Regions from separate parts of the Homo sapiens genome. Here all the other regions are linked to region 5. The links are contacts of gene promoters, found by promoter capture Hi-C in blood cells and fetal thymus (Javierre and others, 2016). All regions are on one chromosome and are shown on one strand. The core of a region is centred on a gene start or on the middle of the fragment in contact, and the rest is flanking DNA. Distances in the headings are between cores, read along the strand shown. Region 1 overlaps MIR646HG (MIR646 host gene). Region 2 has its middle 24 kb from the start of MIR646HG. Region 3 overlaps MIR646HG (MIR646 host gene). Region 4 holds the start of MIR646HG (MIR646 host gene). Region 5 holds the start of CDH26 (cadherin 26).

Region 1 (5,327 bases), core at 2,567-5,066, 210 kb before region 5:
GAAAGGTAAAGTATCCCATTACATGTTTTATGTGGACAACATGTCAAATTGATAGTATTTTGGATATATGGGGTTAATAAAGTATAATATGTATTTATTTTTTTTGAGATGGAGTTTCACTCTGTTGCCCAGGCTGGAGGATAGTGGCACCATGTCGGCTCACTGCAACTAGCATTTTGGGAGGCTGAGGCAGGTGGATCAACTGAGGTCAGGAGTTCAAGACTAGCCTGGCCAACATGATGAAACCCCATCTCTACTAAAAAAATACAAAAATTAGCCAGGCGTTGTGGTGGGTGCCTGTAATCCCAGCTACTTGGGAGGCTGAGGCAGGAGAAAAAGTATATTATTAAAAGTAATTTTACCTTTTTCCTTTTGTTTTAATAGGACTACCAGAAAAATTTAAATTACACATTTGGCTTCTATTATATATCTATTGTATAGTGCCACTCCAGATAAGCAATGAGTAAAGCAAGTATATGGAGTGACCATTTAATTCATGATCGAAAGTGGGACAATTGGACAGTGCCCACAGGCATTCTTAATAATCACACTAGAACAACTGGCATAAGCCAGGACATACGCTCACCTCACTAATTAACCAGTAAATGTGATTGTTGAAAACATAACAGAAATAAAAGATTCCTCTTGTAACTTCAACTGCTCTTGAAGGGGTGCACGCCCCATTGAAGGGATGCCTTGCTGCCTGCTGTGTCTTCATGGATTTGTTGTTAGGTTAGAGCGTGGACCTTGCAGAGGTTGCAAATACCCTGAGAGTTTGGAGTTTTAGGAACAATCTGACGGAGGAGCAAGAAATATCGAGTGAATCAGAGAAACTCCCTGGCGAAGGAGTGGGGTGGTCAAAGGGCATTTTAACAGCATTACCTGACTATTCTACATGAACTTCTTTTTTTCTCTCTTTATTCCAGTACAAGTTTTCCCCCCTCATCCTCATCATTCTTATCTCTATTTTTTTTTTTTTTTTTGAGATGGAGTCTCACTCTGTCACCCAGGCCAGAGTGCAGTGGTGCAATCTCAGCTCACTGCAAGCTCCGCCCCTCGGGTTCACGCCATTCTCCTGCCTCAGCCTCCCAAGTAGCTGGGACTACAGGCGCCCGCCACCACGCCCGGCTAATTTTTTTTTTTTTTTCCGTATTTTTGTAGAGATGGGGTTTTACTGTGTTAGCCAGGATGGTCTCGATCTCCTGACCTCATGATCCGCCCACCTCAGCCTCCCAAAGTGCTGGGATTACAGGCGTGAGCCACCACACCCAGCCTTTTTTTTTTTTTTTAAGGTTTCTGTATTCACATACATTGTATGTGAACAGGGCAAATTTATGATTTGTAAAGAAAAAGATTTTTTCCATCTGGTTCAACATGGGGCAAAATAGCCCACAGGCAAGGCAGGTGTCCCCTGGGATGCAAAGAAGCCATGAGAATGAGCTCCCACCTTCTGAGTCACCGCTCACCCTGCTGCCCACTGGAGGAGAGGAGAAGTTTCAGTGCAGGTTTTTCCTTTCCGAGTATGGGACGTGATGGGAGCTGGCCCTGACCTTGTCTATGTGCCTCAGAGGACCAGGAGGTCCCAGCCAACATCAGGAATATGATAGTAAAGGTTGAGTAATAATGACAAAATAATACTCTGAGAATTATTCAGTAGTTTCCAACCACAATAGCTCTCCCTTCAGAAACGCATAAGATTGGCATTTATTTTGCTCTAGAGAGAACATTCCTTATTAGAGCAAAGTGAAAAGGAAAGCAACAATACCCAAAAAGAGGCAGAAAATGAAAAGCCGCAAGCTTCCACCGGCCTAGAGGATGCAATTTCTCTTTGCTTATTTAAGAACAACTGGGATGCATCGAACACCCCATAAAAGGCCGGCTATAGACTCACATGTTTTATCTCCTTATTACAACATCACTGTGTGTTGCTGAAAATGGCCAATTCTGTAGCAAAGAATCATTCCCAAGGGCAGCATCTGCCTCATTGCTGTTGACAATGCTTTGGAAACAGCACTGGGTTGCTTTCCAGATTCCTCAGACCTCTGCCCAAGAGGTGACCTGAGCTGATTCTCACAGAATCCATAGAAAGAATGTGTTGGCATAAGCTAGTCCAAATTCAGGTTGCTGGACTCAAAATCCGTGTCCCTGAAGAGGAGTAAAGTAGGTGTCATCTTCTCCTGCCCACTCCCCTGGTAATCCACTGTTTAAAACTAACTAGGCATCAACCTCAGAAACATTTACTGGACCCGAGCTCCATGTCAGGCCATGAAGTACAGTTACAGGCAGGTTCCATCGCATCTTCACAGCACTAACAGGTATGCATTTTTTATTATCCTCACTTCACACATGAGAAATGGAGACACACAGAGGTTACATAACTAATGTGGCTAAAACGGAAGAGTAGGTCAGATAAAAAGCCATGTCTCCTGACTCCAAACAGCATGGTGGTAACGCACACAGGGCCACTCCCCAACACATGGGCCATATGTTAATTACCTATAAATCCATGTGAAATATTCATTCATTGATTCATTCATTCACTTAAACTTGATTCGATGCTTCCAGCTGCCCTGGATACAAAAATAAATAAAATCTGGTCCCTGACTTAATTCAAGAAATTCACCATCTGGCTGAGAATAATTTTGGAATGCAAAGGTCCAAACCCCCATTTATTTGTTTTCTGATTTTGAAAAACTTTTCTTACTGGGTTTACCCATATTAGGTTTTTGCATTTTGTTTGTTTTCTCTGAGCTTGGAGGCAGAAAGACCTGCAATCAAAGACTGTATTTTTTTCATTGTTTTATTTCCTGTCTATTATATTTTGGATTCAGAATCCACTTTTCTGCAAAGCCTTTCATTTGCATCTGTACACTATAAATATGCAAATCCCAAACAAATAGGAAAGTAAAAACTCAGCCAAACCAGCCACTTGACATCAGGGTAGTTTACTGACTTCTAACTCTACTGTTAGCCAGTTTGTGCAGAGCAGACATTACAAAGTGGCAGTTTAGCCTAAAATGAGTTTTATTTTGCCTGTTCAGTGTTTTACTTCCAAGTGAATCAGTGTTTTAAAAATATAAAATGTTACATAAAAATCCAGATTTCTGGTATTTGTTGAAAAATTGGAAATTCTCATAGCAAAACACTGGGCCCACATGCCTACATAGCAACAAGGGCTGGAGCGGAACAGTGGCTATCTCTGTTAGTGACATGCTCATTCCAGCTCCCCATAGTCCCCACCACTCCCTACTGAATCCCCATCCTTGAGACTGTGTGTACCAGTTGTCATCCGGCACCTCTCTTAGACAGTTGCTTTCCTATGGTCTGTGGCTATTTCTGTATCTGTACATTTATCCAAATATGTACAACAAAACTCAAACTAAAAGGGCCTGATGATTATTTTTCTATGCAGCTTGTCTTGCTCATTTGCCTGACTACCTGATCCCTGTAGATATGGCTTTGACCAACAGTGTCAATAAATTGCATTCCCAATCAGACCAACAAAGGATGTGCAACTCAAGTTGTTTCAATTGAGTATGTGGCTGAAAACCTCTATATCCTACATGTGTCGATTACGTATAGCTGAATAACAAACCTCCCCACAACTCAGTGACTTAAAACAAGCATTTATTTGGCTTTTAATTATGTGTGTCTGAAACCTGGGCTGGGCTCAAGTAGGTAGCTCTTCTACTGGTCTCACTAGACTCACTCATCTGTGGTCAGCTGGTGGTCATTGAACTAACGTGCCTGCCTACAGGCTGGCTGGCTGCAGGCTGAGGCCATGAAGGTACCTAGGTGTCCCATCTTTTATCACCCAGCAGGCCTGCCCAGGCTTGTTCTTGGGATGGTGGTTGTAAAGTTCTTGTATGAGTTTGCTAGAACTGCCATAACAGAATACCACCGACTATGGGGGGCCTTAAACAATATGACTTCACTTTCTCACAGTTCTGAAGGCTGGAAATTTAAGATCAAGATGCCAGCAGGACTGGTTTCCAGTGAGGCCTCTCTTCCTGGCTTGTGGACGGGTGCCTTCTTGCTCTGTCCTCATGTGACCTTTCCTCTGTGAGCCTGTGGAGAGGAAGTAGTCTCTGGTATCTCTCCCTCCTCTTATAAGAACACAGTCCTATCAGAGTAGGGCCCTACCCTTCTGGCCACATTTAACTTTAATTACTTCCTTAAAGGCTTTACATTCAAATACAGTCACATTGGGAGTTAGGGCTTCAACCTATGAATTTTAGTGGGATGCAATCAGTCCGTAACAGTTCCCAAGAGCAAATAGAAGACAAGCCCTTTGTGTAATATTTGATTTTTTTCTCATTGACCTAAACAAGTCCTCTGGCCAGGTCCTGAGTCAGCGTGAGAGTGGACCACACTGACGCAAATACCAGGACACAGAGAGGCATGAACAAATGAGGGGCTGTGACAGCAGCCATCCACCATGTCCAGGCCAACTTTCTTCACCTGCTGCATACTCTAGGTCAGCGCATTTTAGATGCATGCTGTGGGGGTTACTGTGGTTCACTATCCAACAACTGATTCTCATCAGCAGGTTATTCTAAGAGGATTATAGGCTCCCTTTCCCCTTCAATGACTGATGGGGGAGTGGGCATGGACCCAGTGCAGATAAAATGGAAATGTCTGCTGCATGTCCTTATGGAAAAGGTTTCCAGGCTCCAATAAAGAACAGGAGAAGAGAAGGTCCTGCTCCTGGATGTTGTTGAGTCAGATAATGCCTGGATCAGCTGTGGCCACCTTGCCATCTCTGGAGGATGACGCCAATCCCTCAAAGGCAATGGGAGACCAGAAAAATGCAGATAGTCTCCAGAGCCTGACATCCATGCCTAGACCGCATTCTGACTCCGAATTTCTTGTTACATAGCACCATGGATATCCTTGCTGCTTGGATTGGTCTGAGTCACTGTATTCAGTCGCTTATAGCCTAATGCAGACCAACAATGCAGACACTGATTAGACTGGCCCATCCATGTGGAGCCAGGGAGGTCACACACATTTCATGGGGAGCCCTGGATTCTATGTTTATGTTGGCCTGGGGCGGCTGCTGTCTCAGCTTCCTCCACTGAAAAAGTAGAAAATGTCTATTCTATAACCCCAAGTGTGGATTTATGATCAGATGAGATAATGCATAGGAAAGCATTTCAAGCTGTATAAATTGTCAAACCAGTGTAAAGAAATGAGAAAACAGCATCTTTCAGGATGAAAGGATTGACAGCTAATAGCTAGAATTATGTCATATCAACAATCCATCCATCCAGTCAAGTCAGTCAGAGCACTGTCAAACCTGTTTACTGTTGCAGAGACCAAAATAA
Region 2 (5,528 bases), core at 417-2,916, 160 kb before region 5:
CTGAGAGCCGTTCATCTTCTTCATGTTTAGGAAACTGCAAGCTCAGTATAAATGTGCCATCCTCTGGTGTCTCTTAAATTCTGTCTGGAAGAACGCCACGGGGAAAGGGTTTAGCATATCTCCTTCAGCATTTGGGAGCTCAGAATTCACAGGGAGATTAACACATATGCTGTAAGTCACGATGGGGAGAGCTATAAATAGAAGAGCCTCTTTCCACACAGTTGAGGATCTTCTGGTATAACCACAATACTTTATAACCCTGATCATCACACAAGGGGAAGCATGAAAATGACCGTGCTCTGAGAGAAGATATTTTATGCATGAACTGGTTTCATTTCTGGAATCTGTAAGCTTTTAAGAGGCAGGAGTCACGGCACATTCCACACTTCATCCACGTTACACCTAAAGGTTCATTGGGAGCACCTGTGAGCATACTTTGGGGTCATAAATCCCAAGGGTTTCTGGAAGGCTACTTCCAAACGCACTGGGCAATGTTTTTAAAGGATGTGCTTAAAAAAAAAAAATGAAGCTTCCAAGTTGCATTTCTTTCAATAGAAAACTGAAGCAGGTCATTGGGGCTCATTTCTTTCTTCCCCCAAATCTGCCCACATATTCAGTTGTTGTGTCTCCTGTCTCCTAAAAACACCAGGTGCTTTTGCTTTTCACTATTTTACCCCCGTCAGGCAGGGGTTGGAGGCTGGCCGGCCACGCCCCCCCCATTAGTCAGGGGTTGGAGACTGCCCGGCCACGCCCCCCACATCAGGCAGGGGTTGGAGGCTGGCTGGCCACGCACCCCACATCAGGCAGGGGTTGGAGGCTGGCCGGCCACGCACCCCACATCAGGCAGGGGTTGGAGGCTGGCAGGCCACCCCTCGCCAACTTTATCCAGTGATTTTATTTACAGCAGGTCTATCACTTTCAAGAACTCAACAAAACCATGACTCAAAAAGGAAAGAAGGAAATCAGGCAACCGCTTCTGAACGCCAAGGCCTTGCTTAGTAAGCTATCACTTAGATCAGGATTTCTCAGCCTCCGTCATGCCGAGATTCGGGGTTGGATCTTTCTCTGTGGCGGAGCTGCCCTGTGCATGTTACGTGTCAGCAGCATCCCACCTGCACCCGCTAGATGAATGCGCACACAGTAGTCTCAGCACTGCCCCCAGGTGTGACAACCAAAAATGTCTCCAGACACTGACCCATGGTGGCCCTCAGTGGAGAACCTCTGAGCCAGATGTTTATTTCACACCTATAGGACTGTAATGGAAGTCATCTAAGCTGAGTGCCAAGGCCTAATTTCCTAAGGACCCAAAACTATCCCACGAGGAAGCCTGATGGTCTCTGAGGTTTCTTCAGCTCTCACTTCTGTGGCTCACACCCAGAGCCCACAACAGAGACATGTCCAACCATTTCCCAGGCCTCCTTTTCAGAAAGTGCTGGATGCTTTTGAGTGCTAGAAGGGGAACCTGACAGAGAAAACAAAACCCGCAGGAGGTGGCTGCTGTCACGACCGCCCCCCGAAACCCGCTCCTCCAATTCCCTGCTTTCCTGTTGCTAAACGCAGAGTCAGCTGTCCAGCTAGAAATAAAAGGTTTATGTTGGGTTGCCACATAGATTCTTATGGCAATAACATTTGGAGCCTTTTACTGGGACATAAACTGTAAGCTAAAATGTCACCCGGTTTTATTAGACAATCTAAACGTAATTGCAAATAAGTTGATGTACTCATAAAAGATGATGTAAGACTGTCATCCCAGCAGCGGCATGGGGACTGGCCAGGAGCACAGGGCGATGGCAAAGTGCTGATCTGCCCTCTGCAACCAAAACCGTCCCCAGATTCCTGAAGTACAAAGAGGGAAGAGTTATGTTGGCAGGCAATGGCAGGAAGCAACATTATTACTTAATAATAATAACACAGGGAACAAGAGGTTAAAAGAGGTCAGTGCAAACCATGTCCCAAGACCATTTTCTCTGGAATAAAATTTTCATAACGAGCTCTAAGTCTTTTTTATGGGCAGGCAGAACGTCATTGGGAAATTAATGATGGATCTGAATGATAAATCTGCTTTCATATAGAAGCGTTGGTTTTTTGAAAATATGCTTTTATGCCTCAAAAGTTGTAAATGAGAACAAGACAAGGATATATCCAGAGGGATCATTATTCCAAGCTGGGCCAGCTGTCCCACCACCTGATTTCATCAAATTTATTCTAAATAAAAATATAGATCAACAAAAATCTACTTTTTTGTGCAAGAATGGGTAATTTACTTTTTTAAAAGATAAAATATGCTCAATATTGTGAAGACATCATGGTTTACATAGGAATCTTGTGTGTTTAACATACAGCTTCAGAAGATTCACCCAGGATAACAAACGTGAGAACAAATTTTTGTGAATTTCAAAATGCTCATCAGTTTACCATCTCAGGCCATTTTTCTTAATTATTAATTGGTCAGTTTGCAAAAGTCATGATATGACTTTCATGGGCTGCCAACAAAGCACACAAACCAGGTGGCTTAAATCAACTGGAATTTATTCTCTCTCACTTCCGAAGGCCAGAAATCTGAAATCGAGGTGTCTATGAGGCATCTTCTGTCTGGAGACTCTAGGGAGGGTCCTTCCTTGCCTCTTCCAGCTTCTGGTGGTTGCTGGAAATCCCTGGTATTACTTGGCCTTGTAAAATAACAACACAGAGAGAGACTTTCCAAAGAGTTGATTCGGGAATAGCAGAGGATTGCAATCCAGGATATGCATTCTCTGGTGAGCCATAAGCACATCCAAAGAGGTTGGGACTAGGAGAAGCTTTTAAAGACAAAAGGGAGAAGTCCACCTTAAGTTGTTTTGAAATGAAGACCATTGATCACAGGGGCTTATTCCGGGAGTTGGTGTTAGCTCATTGGTGGAAGCAGCCAGTGTTGGACAAGTTATGTGCATCCATAAGTGGCTTACCTGGAATCCTGTGTTTTTGAGGAGTTCCTTGCATAGTTCCTGTCATAGGCATACAAGCAGGGATGTCTTGTGATAAGTCAGGCATGTGGTGGGGGTGCTGCACCCCATTTTACTATGGTTGATGTAGCGACTCCATTTTTATATCAATGACTGGCAGCTATTCCTCTCCAGTCCTTCTTCTCATGGCCTTCTTCACATGGCCTTCTTCTCAGTCCATCTCTGCATCCAAATTTTCCTCTTCTTATAAGGACATTGGCCAATTAAGATCCACCCTAATCTAGTACAACCTCATCTTAACCAGTTATATCTGCAAAGACTCTATTTCCAAATAAGGTCACATTCTGAGGTTCTGAGTGGACATGGATTATAGGGGGGACACTGTTCGACCCAGTAGAGTGGTGAGGAGCCTATCAGTGCACATATGGTCTCAGCTTGCATTAATTTCTCTCAGCATCCTTCCCCATCTGCCATCCGGTCAGGCACACTTCCCTGTGCTGATGCTTCCTTGCCATGCACAGCTCCACCAGAGAATCAACCGGTTTCATGCAACTTCCTGCTGACTTCATCTCCAGCCTCATTTGTCATGAAACATGGGTTCCAGGAAAGCCCAGTACTGCTATGCACAGAGGCCGATACTGGGCAGGTGGGGGCAGAGGCATCTCTCCCAACCCGGAGGAGGTGCTCCCTGTTCTGCATTCAGAACACTCCTTAGGCACGGAAGTCATTGTCACTTGGTGCCATGTCCATAGGCTACTGAAAAGCATCACCCAAACACATCTGCACTTTAGGACCCACTATCAGAGTGACATAACTCACACTTCGAAGTCAGGCCGACCTGTGTCTAGTTGAGCAGTCTGGGTCTCAACTGGGTCAAGTGGGGATTAGACCATGTGAAAAATTTGCCAGCCAACCCTGGAGAGCCCCCACCTTCACTGTGTCTGCTTCTGCCTTTAATACTTTCTTCTCTGCACTGCGGTCTGGCCTGGGCTACCTGGCCCCCAGCACAGCCTCCTTGTTCCAGTGAGTAGCCATGCTTCTCCTGCTCCTTCTTGCCTGCTGAGCACCAGGTCACGTAGTTGACTGTGCCCTTGGCTCACTCTCTCTCCTTGCACTGGGTCTGAGGGCTTCTCTTCCTCTGCCCCATGCCTGTTCCTGGAGTTCCTTGGCGGTCTGTCCTCACTGTGCAGATGCTCCAGAGAGACTGAGCCTCCCCCACAGCTATCACCCGCTACACACAGGCACAGACTACCAGGGTATGAGCTCAGCTTGCACTCACTTCTCTCAGGAGCCCTCCCCATCTGCCACCCGGTTAGGCACACTTCCCTGTGCTGCTTCCTCACCACGCACGGCCCCACCAGAGAATCAACCTGCTTCGTGCAACTTCCCCTGACTTCATTTCCAGCCCCAATAGATGGCAACCATTTTAAGGACAAGTGTGGTTCTTGTCCTAGCACAGTGCCTGGTGCACAGCGGGGACTCCAAGTGTCTGCTGCATATCATCCACTCGTTCATTCACTTATTTATTCAAAAAATATTTAGAGAGCCTCTACCAGGAAACAGGCACTGTATGAAGCACTAGGAATTCAAATGAACAAAACAACTACCCACACCATCCCCTGGCTCCACTGGCATTACATTCAAGGAGGGGAGATGGACAATTAATAAAAAAAACATAAAAATACATCACGTGGTGTCAAGAGTTGTGAAGCAAGCACCAGCCAGGGAGGGGAGATGACAGGAGAGGGGGCCCTGCTGGACGCCATGATGAGAGGAGGTGAGCAGGCTGCACTCTGGCATCAGCTGGGGAGGGAGCAGTGTGTGGTTATTTGGGGACGGGCACTCCAGGTGGAGGGAAAGGCCACTGTGCTGCTGCTGATGCTGCCGGAGCGAGGCTGAGATCAAGAGATGGGGTCAACACAGGTCAGCAAGGGAAAGGACAGCCCATTTCTGCAACGCCCACCTGCGGCCACGATCTGGGCCTTTGCCTTCCAACCTACCCAGCCCAGCTGTTAAATGAAGAGTCTGAAGCCCAGCTTTTAGCAATGAAGCTTTGACCATTCAAATGAGCCAGATCCTAAGGGTAGGAGTGGGTGGGGAGGCTGGGTCCAAGGCCTCAGCTGCAGCCCACCCGGATCTCCAAAACCACAGCAGTTCCAGGTTTGAAGTCAGCCAAGAACTCATCGAAATCTGCAAGCAGAGAAGAGGGGACCCTGAGAAGGAATTTCAAACTCCACAAAGCAGATTAAAGCCAAAGTGACTCTGTGGCCCATGGCGTGTGTTCTACATTCACAAGAAGGAAAATTCAGGAAATGGAGCAAGAAGAGTGGAAAAGCTCCTCGCTGCCCAGCCTCAAGATGCAATAAATTGCTTATTTAAAATGCCTGTTTTCAGGCAGGTAAGGGGTTTTTGTCCTACAACTGTCATCAGTATAAATTAGTGGCTTCTCTCAACAGGGCTTATTTACTTAGCAAGTAAATTGGGTTAGATCATTGCTAAATTTTGCCATTTGGCACATATGATATTTATGCACTTAATAGCTTCATTAAGGAGGTTTCTGGGAGTCTATTACTGAGCAAGTCTATA
Region 3 (5,801 bases), core at 2,296-4,795, 240 kb before region 5:
GCCCAGGACCAGATGGATTTATGGCTGAATTATACCAGAGGTTCAATGAGGTGCTGGTACCATTTCTTCTGAAACTATTCCAAACAATTGAAAAGGAGGGACTCCTCCCTAACTCATTTTATGAGTTTATGAGACCAGCACAGTTCTGATACCAAAACCTGGCAAAGATACAACAAAAAAAGAAAATTCAGGCCAATATCCCTGATGAACATCAATGCAAAATCCTCAATAAAATATTGGCAAACTAAATCCAGCAGCATATCAAAAAGCTCATCTACCACAATCAAGTTGGCTTCATCCTCAGGATGCAAGGCTAGTTCAACATATACAAATCAATAAACGTAATTCCTCATGTAAACAGAACCAAAGATAAAAACCACATGATTATCTCAATAGGTACAGAAAAGGCCTTCAGTAAAATTCGACATCCCTTCATATTAAAAACTCTTAATAAACTAGGTATTGAAGGAATATACCTCCAAATAATAAGAGCCATTTATGACAAACCCACACCCAGTATCATACTGAATGGGCAAAAGCTGGAAGCATTCCCTTGAAAACTGGCACAATACAAGGATGTCCTCTCTCACCACTCCTTTTCAATATAGTATTGGAAGTTCTGGCCAAGGCATCCGGGAAGAGAAAGAAATAAAGGGTATCCAAACAGGAAGAGAGGAAGTCAACTGTCTCTGTTTGCAGATGACATGATTCTATATTTAGAAAACCCCATCATCTCAGCCCAAAAGCTTATTAAACTGATAAGCAACTTCAGCAAAGTATCAGGATACAAAATCAATGTGCAAAAATCATAAGCATTCCTATACAACATTAGACAAGTAGAGAGTCAATTCATGAATGACCTCCCATTCACAATTGCTACAAAAAGGTTAAAATACCTAGGAATACAGCTAACAAGGAAAGTGAAGGACTTCTTCAAGGAAAACTACAAACCACTACTTAAGGAAATCAGAGAGGACACAAACAAAAAGAAAAACATTCCATGCTTATGGATAGGAAGAATCAATATTGTGAAAATGGCCATAATGCCCAAAGTAATTTATAGATTCAATGCTATTCCCATTAAACTACCATTGACATTCTTCACAGAATTAGAAAAAAACTACATTAAAATGCATATGGAATCAAAAAAGAGCCTGTACATCCAAGACAATCCTAAGCAAAAAGAACAAAGCTGGAGGCATCATGCCACTAACTTCAAATTATACTACAAGTCTATAGTAACCAAAACAGCATGGTACCAGTACAGAAACAGACACATAGACCAATGGAACAGAATAACTCAGAAATAAGACTGCACATCTACAACCATCTGATCTTTGACAAACCTGACAAAAACAAGAAATGGGGAAAGGATTCCCTATTTAATTAGTGGTGCTGGGAAAACTGGCAAGCCATATGAGGGAAACTGAAACTGGACCCCTTCCTTACACCTTATGCAAAAATTAACTCAAGATGGATTAAAGACTTAAACGTAAAACCCAAAACTATAAAAACCCTAGAAGAAAATCTAGGCAATACCATTCAGGACCTAGGCACAGGCAAAGCTTTCATAATGAAAACCTCAAAAGCAATTTGTAACAGAAGCAAAAATTGACAAATGGGATTTAATTAAAGAGCTTCTGCACAGCAAAAGAAACTACAATCAGAGTGAACAGACAACCTATAGAATGGGAGAAAATTTTCACAATCTATCCATCTGACAAAGGGCTAATATACAGAATCTACAAGGAACTTAAACAAATTTACAAGAAAAAAACAACCCCATTAAAAAGTGGGTGAAGGACATGAACAGACACTTCTCAAAGACAATAAACATATGAAAAAGAGCTCAACATCACTGATCACTAAAAATATGTCAATATCACTGATCACTAGAGAAATGCAAATCAAACCCACTATGAGACACCATCTCACACCAGTCAGAATGGCTACTATTAAAAAGTCAAGAAACGAGAGATGCTGGTGAGGCTATGGAGACACAGGAACACTTTTACACTGTTGGTGGGAATATAAATTCGTTCAACCCTTGTGAAAAATAGTGTGGCAATTCCTCAAAGACTTAGAACCAGAAATAACATTTGACCCAGCAATCCCATTACTGGGTATAGACACAAAGGAATATTAATTATAAAGACACATGCACACATACATTCATTGCAGCACTATTCACAATAGCAAAGACATGGAGTCAACCGAAATCCCCATCAATGATAGACTAGATAAAGAAAATGTTGTATATATACACTGAGGAATACTATGCAGCCATAAAAAGGAACAAGATTATGTCCTTTGCAGAGACATGGATGGAGCTGGAAGCCATTATCCATGGAACAGAAAACCAAACACTACATATTCTCACTTATAAGTAGGAGATGACAATGAGAACACATGGGCCCAGGAAAGGGAACAACACACACTGGGGCTTGTCATCGGGGGAGGGGTCGTGCGAGGAGGAAGAGCACCAGGAAAAATAGCTAATGCATGCTAGGCTTAATGCCTCGGTGATGTGTTGATAAGTGCAAAAAACCACCATGGTGCATGTTTACCTATGTAACACACCTGCACATCCTGCACATGTATCCCAGAACTTAAACTTAAAAAAAAAAAGAAAAAGAGCATTTCCAAAAAATATATTCCTTGGAACAAAGGGTATATTGTTCAATATATTTGAAAGAGACTGAATTTCACTAAGTTATCTGAATTTCTTTTGTGTAGGATTCCCAAGAGACCTGAATACACAAATGTACACAATGCTAAGGGCTCAAATGGGTTTCTCTTAACTGACCACAGAAAAATTCATTTTATAAAAATAGAATGTTATGCAGAACTGTGTTTTTCCAGGGACCAATGTACCAAAAGTTCTTTCTATACAACATTCATTCTTGAAGTCTCATATCTCACAGCTCTAAGCCACTTGCTGAGTCCCAGCCTTGCTGGATTTCTCAGTGGGGAGGGGACTGTAGGAAAAGGTATTTGTGCAGAAGAGTCAGCAGGATTTGCAGGGGCAGGTCAGGGAGGTGCTCCGTCCATTCTCTTCGGGAACATTACTTTAGAACACCTTCACTGCAAAGTTTAGCCATTTCATGATGAGCAAAAGCATCCCAATTTTGGTAATTTCAAAGCCTTACAAAAATTAAAAGCAACTGCTCCCAATAAAATATGTGGGCCCCTGTCCCTGTTGGATGCAGATATGCACACTGGCATTCTCTCTCTTCAAGCACTCACAGGTCTCACCTCCACATAGCAGTGTCGAGGGACCAGCACCTCCAGCCAACTATTCTGCACAAATATCTTATCCTTAGGACCAAAGGAATCATTTGGAAACTTCCCATTTGAAGTCTTTTCCTTTTGAAATACCTTTGAACTTGTTTCATCTCCTTTTACCTTTCTTTTTGACAAACTGGCACTTTCTTAAACTTTTAGAGACATCCCAATTATGGAGGTAAATTCTTTGGCAATTTTTCGGGCAATTTCTGCATAAAGGGACATTGTGTGCATGTCCAGTAAAGACCCATTCATTTTCATTGACTTTTTAATGGATTTAACTTGGTTTTAAAAAAAATGATGGCAAGGAAATTAAAGGTAATGAGAGGGAAAATGGATGATTCCAGACTTTCTTCCACTTTAAAGATAGCCAAATGTAATATGCCCAAGTTTGATGAAATTATTTTATTGTTTTAACCATCATTTATGGGAAATTGAGTTTCCCTAGAGACTGCAAGGACCCATTGAAGAGACACAGGACTTTTAACAGGTAAATTGGCAGAATGTTAGGGACTGTTTCTCCTCTTCTGCAGTCACCACCCAAAGCACTTGCCTCCCCTGTTTTACCCAATATGGTGGCTGTGGACCACACACTTCTTTAGGGGATTTGCTTGGGTTGGGCTACCCCAACATCTATTTCCCTACTTTTTGCACAATGCCCATCTCCCTTTGGGGAAATTGCCCCTCTCCCACTGTGTATGGTCTTGGGTTGGTGGGAGGTCAAAGTGCCCTGCTTAGTTGAGTAGGATAGCTATAAGTAAAGGTATTCTGCCATTGCTTGGTGGGGTGGGCTGGCTGTATGTTAAGGTTCCCTGCCATTGTCTAGTAGTGTAGGCTGGCTCCATGTCAAGGTATCCTGCCATTGCTGGTGGGGTGAGCTGGCTACAAGTCAAGTTGTCCTGCTATTGCTTAGTCGAGTGGGCTGGCTGCAAGTCAGGTGTCCTGCCATTGCTTGGTGGGGTGGGCTGGCTATAAGTCAAGGTGCCCTGCCTTTGCTTAGTGGGATGGGCTGGCTATAAGTCAAGTGCCCTGCCATTGCTTAGTGCACTGGGCTGGCTGTCAGTCAAGGTGCCCTGCCATTGCTTAGTGGGGTAGGCTGGCTGTCAGTCAAGGTGCCCTGCCATTGCTTAGTGGGGGAGGCTGGCTATCAGTCAAGGTGCCCGGCCATTGCTTAGTGGGGTATGTCGGCTGTCAGTCAAGGTGCCCGGCCATTGCTTAGTGGGGTATGTCGGCTGTCAGTCAAGGTGCCCGGCCATTGCTTAGTGGGGTAGGCTGGCTGTCATTCAAGGTGCCCTGCCATTGCTTGGTGGGGTGGGCTGGTTACTGGCTATAAGTCAAGATGCCCTGCCGTTGCTTCATTGCTTAGCAATGTTGGGGTAAAGGGGCACTGGAACTCAAGCTGGGGCAATCTCATGAGCTCTCTTTCCACCAACCCCCAGATATTCTGTTAGCCAAGATGACACAAGATAGGGAAAAGAGTTAACCTGATTCCCACCAGATACACTGAGTTGAGATGCCTGGTGCCAGCTCCTGCTACCTGGACCATAACTCTGCCCTTGATCTTGCCATTTCCCAAGCAGAGTTCTCATGCTCTTACTAGATCCTCTTCTGCTTAACCAGAGTTTGTGACCTGGGTAACCCTCACTGGCCCAAACTCATTTTGACAGATCAAATGATTCCTCCTCACCTGAGAAGAAGCAGCTAGAAGTACTCCCAGACACTGCAGGGCATCTAGTCTTCCTCCTCTGCAACAAGAGCCTGGCAGTGTCCCCCTCCCCTCAAAGGATGGCCAGGCCAGCACCCAGCACAGGAGGCCCAGAGCTCCTCCATTGTGGCCCTGAATAATGGAGGGGATGGCACAGATCCACAGTGAAGTATGTGCCCTCTGGACCAAGGCTGTCCAGCTTGAATCCCAGCTCTGCTCCTCACCACTGTATGACTTGGACAAGTCACCAAGTCACCTCGCCCCCATGTGCCTCCATTTCCTCATCTACCAAATGCAGCTAATGCCATTGTTTTTATCTCAAAGGCTTGTTTTAAGGATTAATGAGTTAACATGTGTAAAGCACATAGAACAGCACTTGACCCAAATATTCATTTACTAAGTTTTAGCTATTCTACTCTTCCTCTTATTACTGTTGTTAAAAAAAATAAGTAGCATTCTCACCAATTTAGTTTAGAGATGTAGCTGGCTTTCATTAGTGAGTCATGTGTCAGGCAACATTCCATCTAAAGCTTTAGAAAGAAGATCCTGTAAGCTGAGAAAAGGAGATGGACTTTATGGCTGAAAAAAGGAATAAAAAGTAGAATGGGCATTACAGGTTACTTTCCTTATAAGGTCAAAATGGAGGGAACTTCTGTATCATGCTGTTTCAGACAAATGGGGCTTCTTCCAACTGCTGCTAGGAATCTCCTGTTTTTTGGAAAACTGGTCCGTATGAGTCAGTTTGATTACATGGCACTTAGTATGGATGAATCCATTCTGGTCTGGTTGGTCTGTTGCGCCTAAAACGGAG
Region 4 (5,797 bases), core at 1-2,500, 180 kb before region 5:
TGAATAATCATGTAAGACCCCCATAAAGGGGGTTTCCCCAGTGTCGGCCAGCACTGCCTCGCCTTTGAGCGGCCGCTCCGATCCGCTGGCAGAGTGCGCTTTCGCTGTGCGATCAACTCCCTTGCTTACCTTTACTTTGGACGTGCTCTCAAGTTCTTTTGTGTGGCGAAGTCAAGACCCTGAACCGGTCCACCAGCAACAGTTCTTTCGGAGTCCCTCAACCACAGGCCCTGAAAGCCGCTGAGTTAAGTCTTTAAACTGCGGGAGAGCCTGGGAGCATCTGAAACGCAAAAGGACTCCCAGTGGATAGGGAGGCAGCACCCTGACCGGAACCGGAAGAGGTTTGCCGGTGAGCCTGAGTCTCCACACACAGTGATCCGGGCACCCGGGCTGCCGTGTGGCAGGTGAAACCGCGTGTGGTGTGGATGTTTCTCCAGCTGTGTTCTGTCGAGCCCCTAAAAGTCTGGCCTGCATTGGAAGGGCCTCCCCAGTGTCCTCGTTTCTGTTCAAACAGAAAAGTTCTTATTTTCTGTATTTGTGGTTTTTGCTTCCTCATATAATTTCGGTTGCACAAAGCTAAAAAATATTTGAAAACCTCTACTTAATCGTATAACTAAATGCAACATTATCTTTTGCTTATTTAATAACTATTTTAATATTTATTTTCTATTTATATTAATAGTGATAATAAAAATATAGCTTGGAGTGAGAGAAAAGCTTTCCTCTCTGTTAACTATCACTGTATCATTTAACTACCACTAGCTATTCCTCACAACGGTTTCTAAAGTGTAAGCACCTGCCACCTCATTAGCCTCTAAGCTCCACAGTGCCAGGGACTCTTTGCCTTAGTCTCTGCTATGTGCTCAGAATACCCAGCACATACTAGGTTTGAACAAAATGCATTTTGGAGAGTGGATGCTGCTGCCACCTGGTGACAGCATACCCACATTTCATGCTTAGCACTTTGATTACTTAATGAAATTCATGAGGAATGGAATCAGAAAACCTAAGACATGCATCTGTGTGATAGCAATCTCACTTTCCTCACTTAGCTTTTTCTGTTTCCCTACTCTGCACAGATTGGAGACATCTGAGTTTTCTCTGCCCCCATCACCTGCACCTGCCCTGGTGGCATGCACTTGCACCTCCTCTGTCTGGTATTAGGTTGGTGCAAAAGTAATTTCTGTTTTTGCCATTACAACTGCATAAACTGCGATTACTTTTGCACCAACCTAATAATAGGGCTTGCCCCTCCAGAGGATAGAATCTTTGCTTGTCACCTTAGAACTTCTCACACAGAGCACTGCATTCATCAAACCCTGGTCTCAGCCATCCTCGGGGCACATGGAAGGTCATGCCCATAAATCAATGCCTCAGCCAACATCTGGTCTCCCCTTCTGCCATTCCCTGTGTCCCTGCCCTGGCACCAGGCATTTGCAGGTGCAGGGGGCAACATCATTTAGTTAGCTTCATCTGGGCAGGGAGGAGCATTATTAAACATGAGAGATAGCTGTTGGCTCATGGAAAAGATTAGTTTTAAGCTATTTAAGGCAAAGCAATAAAGGATGTGGTTTCCTCCTCTGACATGCTTCCTAATTTGTAGATTCATATGACATCACACTGGATTACAAAGCCACATTACTCTGATTGGTAATATTATGCTATCCTAATTCAGTTTGTATAATTATTTAATTTTTTAGGACTGCTCTCAAATATTAACATTGTGTTCGGTAGAGGCCAGAAAAAATTGGGAACATGCATCCACACACGTGGAGAAGCTTAATTGCTAGAATAATGCAGGGCAATTATTGTAATGAGAACAAAGCCTCATGTCTGGCATACACATGTGACTGTGTCCAGCCCAACTTCCACTGAAGTGACAGTCACTGGACTCGAAGCTCCTCAAGGACAGGGGCTGTGTCGCCTTCACAGACATGACTCATTGCCGGTGCTCAATCAGGGTTGAGCTGACTTGACTTGAAGCCAAATAAGGACAAAGAAAGGTCAGGCAGTCCTGAAAAAGCCAAGGGTCTGAGAGACAACACTCGCTGTTGTCCTCGCTGTTTAATTCTCTGAGGTCCATTAGGAAGTAGGTAGGAGCCATGTCATCATGGCCACTTGGGCCAATCGTCTGCACAGATGGGGAAGGCATCTGCCCCCACAGTGAACACTAGGCTTATCTGCCTCCTAAATCTCTCTCCAGGCTAACTTCCATGGTTATTCAAATCCCTCTATTAAATATTCAGACCTCCAGCCCCTGGACCTCTATGGTCCTCCTGACAAAGCTAGAGCTGTGATTTCTCTGCACCTCCATTCTTCATCTGCAAAATGGGGCCATAGAGTCTACTCCACTGGGTTGAGAAGCTACTGGAAACCAGGCTGCCAAGTGCCTGATGCAGTATCTGTCTTCAGCTGGCCTCCACACAAAGACAGTTTCCTCTTTTAAATTATATCTAGACTTTTAATCATTTTTTTACATTTTTATGGGTACACAGTAGGTGTATATATTTATGGGGAACATGAGATGTTTTGATACAGGCATGCAATGCACCATAATCACACTATGGAAAATGGAGTATCCATCTCCTCAAGCATTTGTCCTTTGTGTTACAAACAATCCAATTATATTCTTAGCTATTTTTAAATGTACAATTAAATTATCGTTGACTCTACTCACCCTATTGTACTATCAAACACTAGGTCTTATTCATCCCCATGTCCGTCCTCCTCACCCCCGCAACACTTCCCAGCCTCTAGTATCCATCCTTCTACCCTCTATCTCCATGAGTTCAATTGTTTGGATTTTTGGATCCCACAAATAAGTGAGAACATGTGATGTTTGTCTTTCTGTGCCTGGTTTATTTCACTTAAGATGATGACCTCCAATTCCATCCCTGTTGTTGCAAATGACAGGTTCTTATTCTTTTTTATGGCTGAATAGTACTCCATTGTGTAAAGTACCACATTTTGTCCTCTTATTGCTTTTCGTCACTGCTGAGAGCCAGTCCTATCTGCTGCTTTTCCAGGGTTTCCTAGGAAGATGCCCACTCTATGTGTTAGACCAGAAGTTTAAGTTAACGTGGTCTATGGACAATCACAGCCCATGCACCCATGGCAGGGCCTCAGGTACCTGCATGTCACCAACTCCTTACCCCAGAGGAGATGCCCACTCTGGCTGGGAAAGTTTAACCACTTCGACGCACACATCTGCCCAACAAATATAGACAGAATGCCTACCATGTACAAGTGTTAACCAAACACCTGAGAAAGAAGCATTAGGTTAACAGAGACTCTATTTGCACAAGCAGTTTGCAAACTGGGGAGATGCAGCCTTCAGTACAAAACAAAGGTGGGCCCGGAGAGAACCAAGAGAGTGGTTGTCTTTGATAGAGAAAGCTCTTACCCAGCCTCCCACTCTGGGCCACTTATGCAATTGTGGGATGTAAACTGCTCAGTTCTGATTGGCCGATGCTGTCACAGTCTATTGCTCAGGTCCAGGAGGAAAATAAGGTTTTCCCACAGCTACTGATTCAGGTGGCATGAACAGGAAAAAACAGCCTTGAATGTCCCTAAGTTACATGGCAAGGGTGTGTGCTTTCCTGGAACACAGAGTATGTGTGTGACCTCTAGTCAGCAAATGGCTGCTTGGCTCTATTTGGAAACTAGGCCCAGTTAGATGCTTAAGAGCTGTTTCGGAGAATGGGCTCTTTCAGGTTCACACAAGACAAAACAACTAGCAAAAGGGAGAAAATGTTCCTGCAAAGTCTACTTTCTAGATTCTCTAGGAAGGTGGTTTAGTCAGGGTTCTCCAGGGAAACGGAACCAATAGGAGATATTATATATATCTTATATATATGTGTGTGTATATATATATTATATATGTGTATATATATTATATATGTGTATATTATATGTGTATATATATATTATATATGTATATATATTATATATGTGTGTATATATATATCATATATGTGTGTGTGTGTATATATATATATATACACACACACACACACACACACACACACACACATATGGGTGTGGGGAGATTTACTATAAGAAACTGACTTGTGGCCGGGCACGGTGGCTCATGCCTGTAATCCTAGCACTTTGGGAGGCCAAAGTGGGCAGATTGCCTGAGCTCAGGAGTTTGAGACCAGCTTGAGCAACACGGTGAAACCCCATCTCTACTAAAATACGAAAAATTAGTCAGGCATGGTGGCATATGCCTGTAGGCCCAGCTATTCGGGAGGCTGAGGCAGCAGAATCACTTGAACCCAGGAAGCGGAGGTTGCAGTGAGCAGAGATCACACCACTGCACTCCACTCTGGGTGACAGAGCAAGACTCTGTCTCCAAAAAAAAAAACAAAAAGAAAAAAGAAAAAAGAAATTGACTCAGGTGGTGATGGAGGTTGAGAAGTCCCACAGTCTGCCATTAGCAAGCTGGAGACCCAGGAAAGCCCATGGTATAATTGGAGTTCAAAGCTCTGAGACACAGGGGAGCTGAGGTGTAAATCCTATTGTGATAGCAGGAGAAGATGAGATGAGATGTCCCACCTCAAGCAGGGAGTCAAGAAAAAAGGCGAATTCCTTCTTTCTCTATCTTTTGTTCTATTCAGGCCCTCAACAAATTGGGTAATGCCCATCCCTGTGGGGCAGGTCAATCTACTGTGCTGAGTCCAGCAACTCAAATGCTAATCTCTTTGGGAAGGCTTCTCACAGACCCACCCAGAAGCAATGTTTAACCTGGGCACCCAGAGGCGCAGTCAAGGTGACACCTAAGATCAACCACCACAGAGGGTGAAACCATCAACCACTCTAGGAGTTTGGTGTAAGGGTGAACCCCTAACCAAGCCAGGGGTCTTGTGTAGTAAAAGGAGGAGGCCAGACTCTGACCCCAAAGTGTCTCATTTAAAGATCTGAGATGGGCTCCAGAACATTCTATGTGCTCACAAGAACCTCTGCTATTTCTGACTCTGTTGGTCCAAGAAACAGCACAAGACTGTGAGCTCTTTATGAGCTGAAACCAGGCCCCAGCTCTGTCCCTGAAGGGACAAAGCACAGTGTGTGGAAGTAGCAGTGTTCAGCGTCTCATTTGTGAGATGAAGCGAAGCCATCGTGAAGGAGTCTGGAAGGACAGAACAACTTTGCTAAGGGGAGTGAGAGTGAGGTCAGGAGTAGGGGAGAAACAGGAAATGGGAGTTCCTTTGAGAGTTGTGAGAACTAAATTCATGCTGGGAAGAGGTGGAGAGAATTCAGAGAAGTGGCTTGCTCTGGTGTGAAGGATCCTTCCGAGGAGGTCAGGATTATAATGATCTCATTACTAAATTGGAACTTGCCCGCCAATAGACCCTACTCATCTCAGACGGAGAAGGAGCTCCACAGCAAGCAACTGTGATTGCACATTAAATATTTAACAGATCGCCTCTTGAGCAATCATTTGTGGTCATAATCTGGCTCAGTCTACCACCACATCACAAAAATGCTCACGTGAAAAGAAACGTGGGTCCAGGAGGTGGTTTCTCAGTTCAATGCACAGATCACTGGTAGCCAAACTCCACACAAAGGTGGATCTCCCCTCGCCATAGCGTCTTCTGCAGTCTTGAGTCTCCAGCCTGAACTACTCCATGAGACCAGGCCCAGAGGACACCCAAAGCCTGGGGAGCCCAGCAACAGAGGTGTTCCACCTTTACCTCTAAAGGGACCTTGCTGCCCATGCCTACCTCCCCATGTGGGGGTGCTGGCTTCTCACTGCTGTCAATATCGGCATTGTCCTGGCCCCTACCTCTGCCAACAG
Region 5 (5,178 bases), core at 93-2,592:
ATCCAGACAACTGAGATTTCCTCAATCTTATGTAAAGTGTGAACAGAAGTATCATTATAAAACTTGGCAGGGCGCAGTGTCTCAAGCCTGTCATCCTAACACTTTGGGAGGCTGAGGCAGGCAGATCACTTGAGGTCAGGAGTTTGAGACCAGCCTGGCCAACATGGTGAAACCCTGTCTCTAATAAAAATACAAAAACTAGCCGGGCATGGTGGCGTGCACCTGTAGTCCCAGTACTCGGGAGGCTGAGCCAGGAGGTTGCTTGAACCCAGTAGGAGGAGGTTGCGGTGCACTGAGATGTCACCACGCACTGTAGCCTGGATGACGAGACCCTGTCTCAAAAAAAAAAAAAAATTGTGTGTGTTGGCTGGGTGAGGTGGCTCATGCCTGTAAACCCAACACTTCGGAAGGGCAAGGCGAATAAATCACTTGAGCTTAGGAGTTCGAGACCAGCCTGGGCAACATGGTGAAAATCCATCTCTATAAAAAATACAGAAATTAGCCAGCGTGGTGGTAAGTTACTGTAGTCCCAGCTACTCTTGAGGCTGAGGTGGAAGGATCACCTGAGCCTGGGAGGTTAAAGCTGCAGTGAGCCTTGATCATGCCACTGCACTCCAGCCTGGATGATGAAGCCAGACCCTGTCTCAACAAAAGGAGAAAGAAACAAAGAAAGAAAACACGTGTGTGTTGATGTAATCTCACTAAAAATAGTGTGAACTATATAAATTAGTTTTAAACAGGTCCCTTAGCCTGCTCCCACTGTTGCCCCAAACAGACTGGGACCCTTAACTTCCCTTTATATAAATCCAGAGCCCCTGCTACCTAAGCCATTCTCAAGACAGCCAGCCCTGGGTCCCAGCAGGTCACACTCAGTCCCTCTCCCCTCCCTTAGCCTAGAAGGGGCAGGGCCAGCTTGTGCTTTGCTTTCAGTTCCCTGCACCTGAGCACTAGGCTGCAGGCTCAGCTTACCTGCAGCAGCCACAGCAGCAGCACTAGAAGCAGCAGCAGCGAGGGGTGCCTCCCGGATCTCATGGCCATATGGGAATACCCAAGACAGACCCAGAACGTGCAGCTGATGACCAGTCCTCCAAGCTGGTGGTCTCACCGGAGCCACACACCTCCTTCTCAGCCAGCAGCTTCTTCTCTAAAGGTTTTCAGGTCACTTTGGCCCAGATGCTTTCATCCCATCTTGCTCCTCCCTTTTCAGCTTTTCTTGCATTTATCAGAGTGGGGTGGGCTGACTTGTAAGCTTGAACATACGTTTGCCACAAGTAGAGTTCCTAGGAAGGGTGGGGTAGAAACTAAAGCCACCATGGTCCTGCACGTACACAAAAGACTGGCTGGGGTCTGACCTCAGGAACAACAGCTCAGCCAGCGGAAGTAAAACCAGCACCTATCGGAAAGCAGAATTATTTGTTTCTTTGTTTCCTTGTTTGTTCTGGTTTCCAAATAGAAGGTCCAATCATCTCTTTCTATAGCAGGATATGTTAGTGACTATTTTCTATAATCTTATCCTCTTGAACCAAACAAAAAAAACTAGAAAATGACAAGAATGATAACTTTATTAAGGGGGAAGGGATGGGGAAGAATGAAAGAAAAGAAAAATCAACTTTTACTTTCCAAAGCACTAAAAATCGTTATTCCAACAATATCCCAGGGCTCTGGGGTTTTCAAATTATTTCTACTAAAACCTTTTTTAAGCTTAGATTAATCTGCCTTTTTGAGTTTGGAATTAAAGTGGGAGGGAGGAGAGATGGGAAAGAGCCTCCCTATGGACAGGGATCTCTGTGGCAACCCGGGAGTCTTTGCATGAGAATTCTGAAAGAGACAATTTGAGATTATATTATACCAATACTTAAGGTTGCAGTAAGCAAGTTTTAAAACACAATCTGTGATACATTAACCCTGATTACCTTAACATGACCTTTTTATCACATTACCTTGTTTAAAGTAGTAAACAGATAAAATAAAAGGTAAACTTTCTTTGCTTGTTCTAGATATTGGCTTAGGCAAGGATTTCATGACCAAGAACCAAAAAGCAAATGCAATAAAATCAAAGATAAATAGCTGGGACCTAATTAAACTAAAGAGCTTTTGCACTGCAAAAGGAACAGTCAGCAGAGTAAACAGACAACCCACAGAGTGGGAGAAAATCTTCACAATCTATACATCTGACAAAGGATTAATATCCAGAATCCACAATGAACTCCAACAAATCAGTAAGAAAAAAACAATCCCATCAAAAAGTGGGATAAGGACATGAATAGACAATTCTCAAAAGAAGATATACAAATGGTCAACAAGCATATGAAAAAATGCTCAACATCACCAATGATCAGCAAAACGCAAATCAAAACCGCAGTGCGATACCACCTTACTCCTGCAAGAATGACCATAATCAAAAAATCAAAAAACAGTAGACGTTGGTGTGGATGTGACAATCAGGGAACACTTCTACACTGCTGGGGGGAATATAACATAGTACAGCTGCTATGGAAAACAGTGTGGAGATTCCTTAAAGAACAAAAGTAGAACTACCATTTGATCCAGCAATCCCACTACTGGGTATCTTCCCAGAGGAAAAGAAGTCATTATTCGAAAAAGATACTTGCACATGCACGTTTATAGCAGCAAAATTCACAATTGCAAAATCGTGGAACCAACCCAAATGCCCATCAATCAACTAGTGGATAAAGAAAATGTGTATATGCGTATCTATATGTATATATACACATATATGCGTGTATATATGTGTATGTACATATATACACATATATGTGTGTATATATGTGTATGTACATATATACACGCATATATGTATATATACACATATATGTGTATATATGTGTATGTACATATATACACATATATACATACATATATACACACATATATGTATATATATACATACACATATATACACACATATATGTATATATATACATACACATATATATACACATATATATGTATATATATGTGTATATACAGATATATATGATGGAATACTACTCAGCCATAAAAAGGAATGAATTAACAGCATTTGCAGTGACCTGGATGAGATTGGAGACTATTATTCTAAATGAAGTAACTCAGGAATGGAAAATCAAACATTGTATATTCTCACTGATTTGTGGGAGCTAAGCTATGAGGACACAAAGGCATAAGAATCATACAATGGACTTTGGGGAATTGGGGGGAAGAGTGGGAAGAGGGTGAGGGATAAAAGACAACAAATATGGTGCAGTGTATACTGCTTGGGTGATGGGTGCACCAGGATCTCACAAATCTCCACTGAAAAACTTACTCATGTAACCAATATGCCACCTGTACCCCAATAACTTATGGAAAAATAAAATTAAAAAATAAAAATAAAAAAGAACTCATCAAAAATAAAATATAAAATAAAAATCTCCCAATTAAAAAAAAAAAACTTTCTTTGCTTAACTGAACATTCATAGCTCTGAGATGCTGCTGAATATTTTAATTTGAATAGTTTATTTTTATTGAAATTAATAGCTTATTATTGAAAAGAATAATAAATACAACTTTAAAGTCTATAGATATTTCCTGTGCATAAAGAGAAACTGAATACCTTGTGCCTATTTTCAAAGTGGATATTTCTATAATGATAGCCTATTTTTAAAAAACTGATTAAGTTAGAATCACTAATTTAGAATATATAAGTCAGGTGAGCTAAACCATGTTAAATATATGTGAAAAAACCACGTCAGTTGAGCACTCCCTGCTGCTAGAATAGCGCTGGGGACTAAAATATTGTTGCTAGAAAGGCATTAGCCTCACAATGTTCTAGTCTGGGCGGAGCTGGGGGACAACAGTGAAGGATTCCACTTTCACATTCGTTTTAAGTTTAAAAGAAATTGGTATTTTAAAATTAGCCGGGCATGGTGGCACACACCTGTAATCCCAACTACTCCGGAGGCTGAGGCAGGGGAATCCCTTGAACCCGGGAGGCGGAGGTTGCAGTGAGCTGAGATCACATCATTGCACTCCAGCCTTAGGCAACAAGAGTGAAACTCCATCTCAAAACAAAACAAAACAAAAAACACCATAGGAACTGGTATTTTAATATATTAGAAACAAACAAGTTTTCAACATTCTCAAGCGTTTAAAATAACTAAGCAGAATGCCAGTTCCCCACACGGCAACCCTACTTGGGTAGGCCACGGGGCCTGGAACTCAGCTGGTGATTCTGGGCATCACCTGCTGCACATCTTGGGTGAGCCTGAGCTTGAAGATGTCCCCACTCCCTTTCTATTCTGAGCATGTGATCATAGTGACAATAGTCTAGCGCTCCTTTCTGTGTCCTTGGAAGTACAGTAATACTTTATAGCCACATGGTGGCAGCTCCCAGCTCCCTGTAAGCTGACAAGTGAAGAAATGAGATTGCTCATGAGATAAAAGTTACTTGATTGCAAGGGAGGTATGAGCTACAATTACCTACCCAGGGTCAACCTTCTCATGTTTTTGAGGAGTGCCCCCAGCCACCTCCAGTTCTCACTGTTCTTTTTTTAGTAATGATGATTGCATCATGAGGCATCCCCACCCGGCTTGGATTTCTGCGTGGACAGTGGTCTGGCTGGCCAGGCCTCATGCCCAGCTGAAAGGAGGGGAACTTAGGTGGACAGTGGGACTGAGGGAAGATGACAAATGCACCTGACTCTGCCTACCTTTGGCATTTTCCATATGGATCAAGTAAACACCAGAGAAGTAAAGCGCTAGGCTCAAGCCTTCTTTCCTGGCTGGGGAGGTGAGAAGGCTGGCATTCGATGCCTCCTCTGCAGAGGTGAGCCAGCCGCAGTGAAAGGCTGGGAGAGTGGCCTGTTACAGAGGACAGGCCTTAGGCTTTCCCTTAGTCTCTCTTTCTGTCACCAACGCTAGGGGAGGCAGAGCCTGGAAGAGGGAGGGAGCAGAGGTGTCCCAACAGCAAAGCACCACCATGCCTTAGGATCTCAGTGCTGGGTTGGAAGGTGAGGAGGGGCTGCCCAAGCCTCCCCTGCCCACACACCCACCTGGGAGTCCAGCCCACCCAGGGTGGATGGAAGAGATTAGATTTCCATCAAGGCTGACATCGAAGTTTTAAGCTGGGCTGGTTTTACTGACTGACGTGACTGGGTAATGATGAGCCCCAGTTGTAACTGAGGGATTGAAATGGTT

Evidence for each region. Contacts are between HindIII fragments. The CHiCAGO score rates a contact against its expected background, and 5 or more counts as called.
Region 1: a fragment that was not itself captured here is called in contact with the fragment with the promoter of CDH26 in region 5 in 1 of 17 cell types (neutrophils); the score reaches 6.1 in neutrophils.
Region 2: a contact is called between a fragment that was not itself captured here and the fragment with the promoter of CDH26 in region 5, in 1 of 17 cell types (neutrophils). The highest score is 6.1, in neutrophils.
Region 3: a contact is called between a fragment that was not itself captured here and the fragment with the promoter of CDH26 in region 5, in 1 of 17 cell types (neutrophils). The highest score is 7.2, in neutrophils.
Region 4: a fragment that was not itself captured here is called in contact with the fragment with the promoter of CDH26 in region 5 in 1 of 17 cell types (neutrophils); the score reaches 5.0 in neutrophils.

What each region holds. Positions count from the first base shown.
Region 1 is chr20:60,169,086-60,174,412 of GRCh38, reverse strand. All of the region lies in intron 2 of MIR646HG (MIR646 host gene), which reads right to left. Among named protein-coding and RNA genes, the nearest start is that of MIR646HG, 33 kb to the right of the region's middle. The HindIII fragment of the contact is 4,033 bases long and covers 1,800-5,327 here.
Region 2 is chr20:60,111,914-60,117,441 of GRCh38, reverse strand. No RefSeq gene overlaps it. Among named protein-coding and RNA genes, the nearest start is that of MIR646HG, 24 kb to the left of the region's middle. The HindIII fragment of the contact is 2,269 bases long and covers 532-2,800 here.
Region 3 is chr20:60,192,249-60,198,049 of GRCh38, reverse strand. The region is part of intron 3 of MIR646HG (MIR646 host gene); the gene reads right to left. Among named protein-coding and RNA genes, the nearest start is that of MIR646HG, 57 kb to the right of the region's middle. The HindIII fragment of the contact is 3,955 bases long and covers 1,568-5,522 here.
Region 4 is chr20:60,132,977-60,138,773 of GRCh38, reverse strand. MIR646HG (MIR646 host gene) reads right to left here and starts at 282. Exons shown (of 5, transcript NR_046099.1): 1 at 130-282. The HindIII fragment of the contact is 1,061 bases long and covers 720-1,780 here.
Region 5 is chr20:59,954,587-59,959,764 of GRCh38, reverse strand. CDH26 (cadherin 26) reads right to left here and starts at 1,342. Exons shown (of 18, transcript NM_177980.4): 1 at 970-1,342. The coding sequence starts at 1,038. RefSeq lists an enhancer at 4,800-5,178. The HindIII fragment of the contact is 452 bases long and covers 1,252-1,703 here.